2 separate regions of the Homo sapiens genome follow, and region 1 is linked to region 2. The links are contacts of gene promoters, found by promoter capture Hi-C in human tissues and cell types (Jung and others, 2019). All regions are on one chromosome and are shown on one strand. The core of a region is centred on a gene start or on the middle of the fragment in contact, and the rest is flanking DNA. Distances in the headings are between cores, read along the strand shown. Region 1 overlaps USP14 (ubiquitin specific peptidase 14). Region 2 holds the start of ENOSF1 (enolase superfamily member 1).

Evidence for each region. The method cuts DNA at HindIII sites, captures the fragments that hold promoters and counts their contacts. A contact is called where the count stands out against the background at its distance.
Region 1: a contact is called between a fragment that was not itself captured here and the fragment with the promoter of ENOSF1 in region 2, in 2 of the 25 tissues and cell types used here (dorsolateral prefrontal cortex and lymphoblastoid cells).

Annotation. Positions count from the first base shown.
Region 1 is chr18:199,962-203,143 of GRCh38, reverse strand. It overlaps USP14 (ubiquitin specific peptidase 14), which reads right to left. Exons shown (of 16, transcript NM_005151.4): 11 at 199-264; 12 at 1-46. Among named protein-coding and RNA genes, the nearest start is that of USP14, 43 kb to the right of the region's middle. The HindIII fragment of the contact is 5,497 bases long and covers 1-3,182 here.
Region 2 is chr18:711,377-714,603 of GRCh38, reverse strand. It overlaps ENOSF1 (enolase superfamily member 1), which reads left to right and starts at 1,974. Exons shown (of 16, transcript NM_017512.7): 1 at 1,974-2,100. The coding sequence starts at 2,017. RefSeq lists an enhancer at 1,199-1,778 and a silencer at 1,730-2,049. The HindIII fragment of the contact is 7,627 bases long and covers 1-3,227 here.

The DNA.
Region 1 (3,182 bases), core at 378-2,877, 510 kb after region 2:
GAACCATCTGAATGGTCAAGTAAGCAGGCAGCCGGCTGATCTTGGACTGAGGAGACAAAATGTAAAGAAATCCCATTACATCAAAATACCATACAAGTTTTAATTATTTGGTGGTAAAAATTAAGACTGGATAAAATTAATTAACTGGAAATATTTCAGTGAAGCGGAATTTGGCTTCGAAAGGACTGCATAACTTACAGATTTGATATACAAGGCATTTCTTTGCAACGTTGGAGACTGTTTGGTGATTTCTTCCTGAAGTCGCTAAGAAAGAACATAACAGAAGACCAAACATTAGTTTTAAAAATTTTATTTCTGCAATATAGAATCACACCAGTAAGCCTTTTAAAAACTAGCACTACCTAAGAGGCAATATACAGTACATCAATGGGTTTATACCACTGAGACACAATTTGATGACAATATGGGAAGACTTTTAGATACTGTTCAATTCTTACAAGGCATCAAATAATTTACGTTGTTGTGGATTCCTCCGAGTGTAAATACTGTTTGCTCTTTTTTAGCTATGCCCCAAATGATGCTTAGATTCAGAGAATTTTATATTGTATTTTATATAACAAAGCTGTCATTCCTGTTTATTATCAGAATATTCACTCTAGAGGAAAATTAAGAGAGCCCAAGAAACTCCTGTTCTTTACGTTTTATGCATAAAAGCCAATCAGCACCAATGAATTATTGTTAAATTTGAAAAAAGTCATAACACAGAAACCTCTGTTAACCTAACAGATGTGGGAAAGCCTTTAGCTGCTGCACATATCTTAACCAGCATGATCACCTTTCTGCTTCTTACAGCCCGTGTAACAGTGGAAACGGTATTTATCCCTCTGGGCATCATTTGGAAAAGGTGGTAGTGGTAATCAATGTTATAGTGTTATTGTTAGAATTACAGTCAGTACATGTAGAAAACCTGGTAAAATATTTGGCATATACTCTACATTTAACAAACATTCACTACTATTTCTAATGTCACAGAAAGAATTAGCACTACTTATGTGCTCTGCTTTAAGAAAACAAACAAAAAAGAAATTAGAATTAAAATAACCTACTGGTAATGTTTAAGCATGTTACACTTGTATAATTTTAAAGTCTGATTTTTTAAAATTACTAATCATATTACAAAAGGAATCACTGTGGAGTAGCTTTTTAACATTTAACCAAGTTTATTCAGCAGCAAAGCAGTGGAGAAACGAAGCCAAATTACTCAAGAATTATCAGAACAAAAGATAAAATATCTTAAAAGTTATAAAGGAAATAAATACATTCTAGGAATACAGGTTTTTCAAGAAAGTATATCTGGTGAAATCTTATTATTACCACCAATCCACTATCATCTAGACCTTCTGGGTATGTTCGGTTTTCCTATACTTTTACAAAATTGTGAAGAAAATACCATCCTGGAGAGTCCCTGCCAAAGCACTCCACTCCACACTCTCCAGTTAACACTGAGACTTCATTTGCTGGTATATCCTGAAACTTGCACACCATGCCTTACATGATTTGGCTCCTGGGGGTTAAGAAGTTTTGTGTGTTTTTAAATGAATTTCTCTTAAAAGTCACCATGTTCATATCCACACTGGCTCAAAACTCTCCCCTCGGTATCATAAGACAGAGCGTGACTCACTCACTCTTCTTCTTATGCCCTTTAACAACCCTTCCCCTTGCCAACCTTATCCCAAACTATAGATGAGAGCCCCCAGATAACAAATCATCTTGTTTATCAACATAATCCATGTCCCACTTCAGTGTTTATCAACCCACCTCCTCTGCCCAAACTAGGCCTCTGCACAGAGGACCTATTCCAATGTCTCATCATTTTTCACTGACTTTTCTTCCTTCAAGACTTCTCTTTATTGGTCATGGTTAGAGGAGACAGCAAAGAGGATCAACCAGGATTTTTAAAAATTCTGCCCTCCAGGCCCTTCTTCAAATATCTAGATGTTGCAATGGCTAACTTTTATTCATGCATTTATTTTTCATACAACTGTGTTTAGGAAGAAGCTAACTTTTAAAATAAATAATCCTGGCTGGGCACGGTGGCTCATTCCTATAATCCCAGCACTTTGGGAGGCCGAGGTGGGCGGATCACAAGGTCAGGAGATTGAGACCATCCAGGCTAACATGACAAAACCCTGTCTCTATCAAAAATACCAAAAATCAGCCAGGTGTGGTGGCACGCACCTGTAGTCCCAGCTACTCAGGAGGCTAAGGCAGGAGAATCTCTTGAACCTGGGAGTCAGAGGTTGCAGTGAGCCGAGATTGTGCCACTGCACTCCAGCTTGGGTGACAGAGAGAGACTCCGTCTCAAAATAAGTAAATAAATAAATAAAATAAAATAAAATAAACAATCCTAATTATCAGTGCTTTTGAAGTGGAATCACATGAACTATAATTTGAAAACTATTAAAAGGTATCAGTTCAAATGGGGAGATCCTTCGAGAGATATACATATCCCCAAAGCACACCAAATTAGTAAGTCAGCAAGCAAAACCGTATGTTTTATCCATGGGCTTATTAGCAGAGTGGAAGCTGACATTTTATGTGAGTCCGTATTCTTTAGTATGGCACTGGAAAAGCAGCACTAACTGAATAATGAAAGAAGCAAGTTCTAGTTCTGGCTCTGCCAAAAGCCAATTAGGTTACTTTAAATTCCAGGGCCTCAACTGCAAGACAGTGCAATGGCAGAACGACTACATGCCCTGATTTGCACAGAAAAATCCCAGTTTATATTGCATAATTACTAACATACCCTCATTCACTCTCCACCAAAGTGTCCTGGTTTAGACAATACATTATATGATCACCCTTAATGGTTAAGAGCACAAACCCACAAACAACCCTATAGTTACTCTCATTTTCACGTAAGAAAACAGTAGCTTAGATTAAGTAATTTTCCTTAAAGTTAACAGTTCAGCTAAGTTATAGGGCCCATGAAAACAACTATCTCTAAGGAAAAATCTTAACAAACATGTAAACTATTCAACAAACATTTCTTGAGTGCTTTAAAATAAAGCAAGGTACAGCACAAAGCACTAGGTGCTTCTTCACAGTGTGAAGCAGGAACACCCAGTGATTAAAAAGTGAGATGTCCCAATATTTGTTAGCATATGCAACCATGTCAATAATGCTTTTGTCTATGAAATGAAGAGCTAGTTGAAGTTTGT
Region 2 (3,227 bases), core at 725-3,224:
ACATCAACTATAGATTTTAAATTGACCTTGTATCCTACAAACTTGCTAAGCTCAATATTAGTTCCAGTAGCTTTTTTCGTTAAGTCCAATGAAGACAGTTTTCAACAAAGATGAATAATCATGTCATCCAAGAATAAACAGGTTTACTTCCTTTTCAATCTGCCTTTTATTTCTTTTCTTATTATATTACCCTAACTAGAACCTGCAGTACTATGTTGAATAGAAGTGGTGGAAGCAGACATCCTTTCCTTGTTCCAAATCTTAAGGAGAAAGCATCAATCATTCACCATAAAGTCAGTTTGTGGCTGTTTCTATCTTCTGAAATAGATTATAGAGAATTGTTGTAATTTCTTCCTTAAATGTTTGGTGTAAAATTCACCAGTGAAACCATGGACCTGGTGCTTTTTGTTTTTGGAAGGCTATTATTTATTCAAGTTATTTAATAGATATAGGCCTATTCAGATTGTCCATTTCTTCTCGTGTGAGTTTTGGCAGATTGTGTCTTTCAAGGAATTGGTTTATTTCATCCAGGTTATCAAATTTGTGGACATAGAATTCATAGTATTCCTTTATTATCATTTTAATGTCCGTCGGATCTGTAGTAATGTTCCTTATTTCACTTTTGATATTAGTTATTTGCGTTCTCTTTTCTTGCCTGGTTAGAGGCTTATTGATTTTATCAATGTTTTCAAAGAACCAGCTTTTGTTTTCATTGATTTTTCTTTGTTGCTTTCCTGTTTTCAATTTCACAGGTTTCTGCTTTAATTTTTATTATTTCTTCTCTTCTGCTTACTTTGGATTTTCTTTTTATTTCTTTTTATTTATTTATTTTTGAGACACAGTCTCACTCTGTCGCCCAGGCTGGAGTGCAGTGGTGCGATCTCGGCTCACTGCAACCTCCGCCTCCTGGGTTGAAGCGATTCTCCTGCCTCAGCCTCCCGAGTAGCTGGGACTGCAGGCGCCCGCCACCACGCCCGGCTAATTTTTTGTATTTTTAGTAGAGACGGGGTTTCACCGTGTTAGCCAGGATGGTCTCGATCTCCTGACTCGCCATCTGCCCGCCTTGGCCTCCCAAACTGCTGGGATTACAGGCGTGAGCCGCCCAGCATCTTTTTTTTTTTTTTTTTTTTTTTGAGTCGGAGTCTTGCTCTGTCGCCCGGGCTGCAGTGCAGTGGCGCGATCTCAGTTCACTGCAAGCTCCACCTCCCGGGTTCAGGCAGTTCTGCCTCAGCCTCCCGAGTAGCCGGGACTACGGGCGCGCACCACCACGCCCTGCTAATTTTTGTTTTTAGTAGAGGCGGGATTTCGCCGTATTGGCCAGGCTGATTTCAAACGCCTGACCTCAGGTGATCCGCCCGCCTCGGCCTCCCGAAGTGCTGGGATTACAGGCTGAGGCACGGTACGGGGACCTCATCTGCATCAGTACGGGTGTAATCAATGATGACCTGCCTCTTAATTTATCAGGTGGCAAACTGAGGCTGTGGGCACTGAAAGAGACCTAGCATTTTCTAGGGCACCGCTCTCCTGGGTACGCTGGCGACAACCAGCGGCCTCGGCTTGGGAGCTGAGCCACTGGCCGGAATCTGCCGCTGAGCGAATGCACTCGCTCAGACCCGACTTCTCCCTCTAGGGCGCGGCTCCCGGGCAGGTCCCTTCACGAGTCTTCCATCCGAGCAGAGCAGGGTCCCGCGGAGGCGCCGACCGGGCGCGAGGCCTCCTGCCTGCCCAGGTTCCCCGGCGACCCTGAGCGAACCCTCTCGGGGTCAGCTCCGTCTAGGCTGAGAAGGGAACGGCGGAAGGCGGAGTGCGCCCCCGGGAGCCCGGAGCTGGGACTGCAGCTCCCATGGGGCCAAGTTCACGGGGTGCGGCCGCGCGGCCAATGAGCGCCCTCTATGCCCTGACGGTGCCCCGCCTCGCGGCGCTGCCGCGCTCCCGCCCTCCCGCCCTCCCGCCGCGCGCTCGGGATCCCGACCAGTCCTGACCGCACGGGGGCCGCGGCCACGGGGCGCAGGGGCCATGGTGCGCGGCAGGATCTCCCGGCTCTCGGTCCGGGACGTGCGCTTCCCCACGTCGCTTGGGGGCCACGGCGCGGACGCCATGGTAAGCGCGGACGCCATGGTAAGCGCGGACGCCATGGTAAGCGCGGACGCCATGGTAAGCGCGGACGCCATGGTAAGCGCGGACGCCATGGTAAGCGCGGACGCCATGGTAAGCGCGGACGCCATGGTAAGCGCGGACGCCATGGTACGCGCGGCTTGCGGCCCGGGTCCCTCCCGCCCCGCCGACTGCAGCTCTGCGGGCCCCGGGCAGCTTCCCGACTTCGAACCCATTGCTTCTGTAAAGTGGGAGGCGCGCCTGGGGGAGACACTCGCTTTTCATGCCTTGGAGCAATTGTATAAGTATCCAGAAACTTTCCACTCTCCTGGGTTTTTTCTTTGCTGGAGTTTAGAATATCCTGGTTTTACTTTTACGACTCACATTTTGCTGGAAATGGTAGAATGCATAATAGGCAATAGCAGCAAAATGATTTTGTTGGGTTCCCGCCAGTGGAAACCCTAGAGCACAGCGCTCGCTGGCTTCCTCTGTACCCTGAACGCGACGGGGTTGGCGCTGAGGGAGAACGGGAAGCCCGGGGCTGGGAGTTTTGAGTGGTGATCCCGCTTCCACAACTTGCTGTGTGACTTGGAGAAGTTCCAGACCTCTCTGGGTCTCTTGGACCCGTCTGTGTAATGAAGGTGTCACAGTCGGGTTGAGAAACCAAGCGCGTGCTAACTGCGTCACATGAGAGGGCGCTCTCGTGAAATTACCCGCAAACACGCTTAGAAAGGACTGATGCAAATGTCAGTTCGTCTTAAGAGATGTAATAAAGTAAGGGCAGGAACTCTGACTCCTACCTAAATATTGAAGGTCTTTTTTGCTTACTGAGGGTGTTAGAATGTCAGGCCTTCCCTCCCCTGCCCCCGTCTAGAGCGGTGTTTCCCAAATACAGTGGGTTCTGTGCAGGGTTTTCAGGGAGCCTGTTCCCCACTGGGTCCTCACTGCCCCTCGTAGTCCACTGATGAGATTGGCCGCGCTAGAAAAGCAGAGTTGTATGGGTATGTAGTGAATGTGTGAAAGTATGCTGGGAAGTGAGGAACGGCAATGTTAGGAAAATGGTTACCAGTAGGGAGGGAAGGAAATGGGGTCACGGAGGGGACCACGAGGTCTCTAATTCCCATTGTAATGTT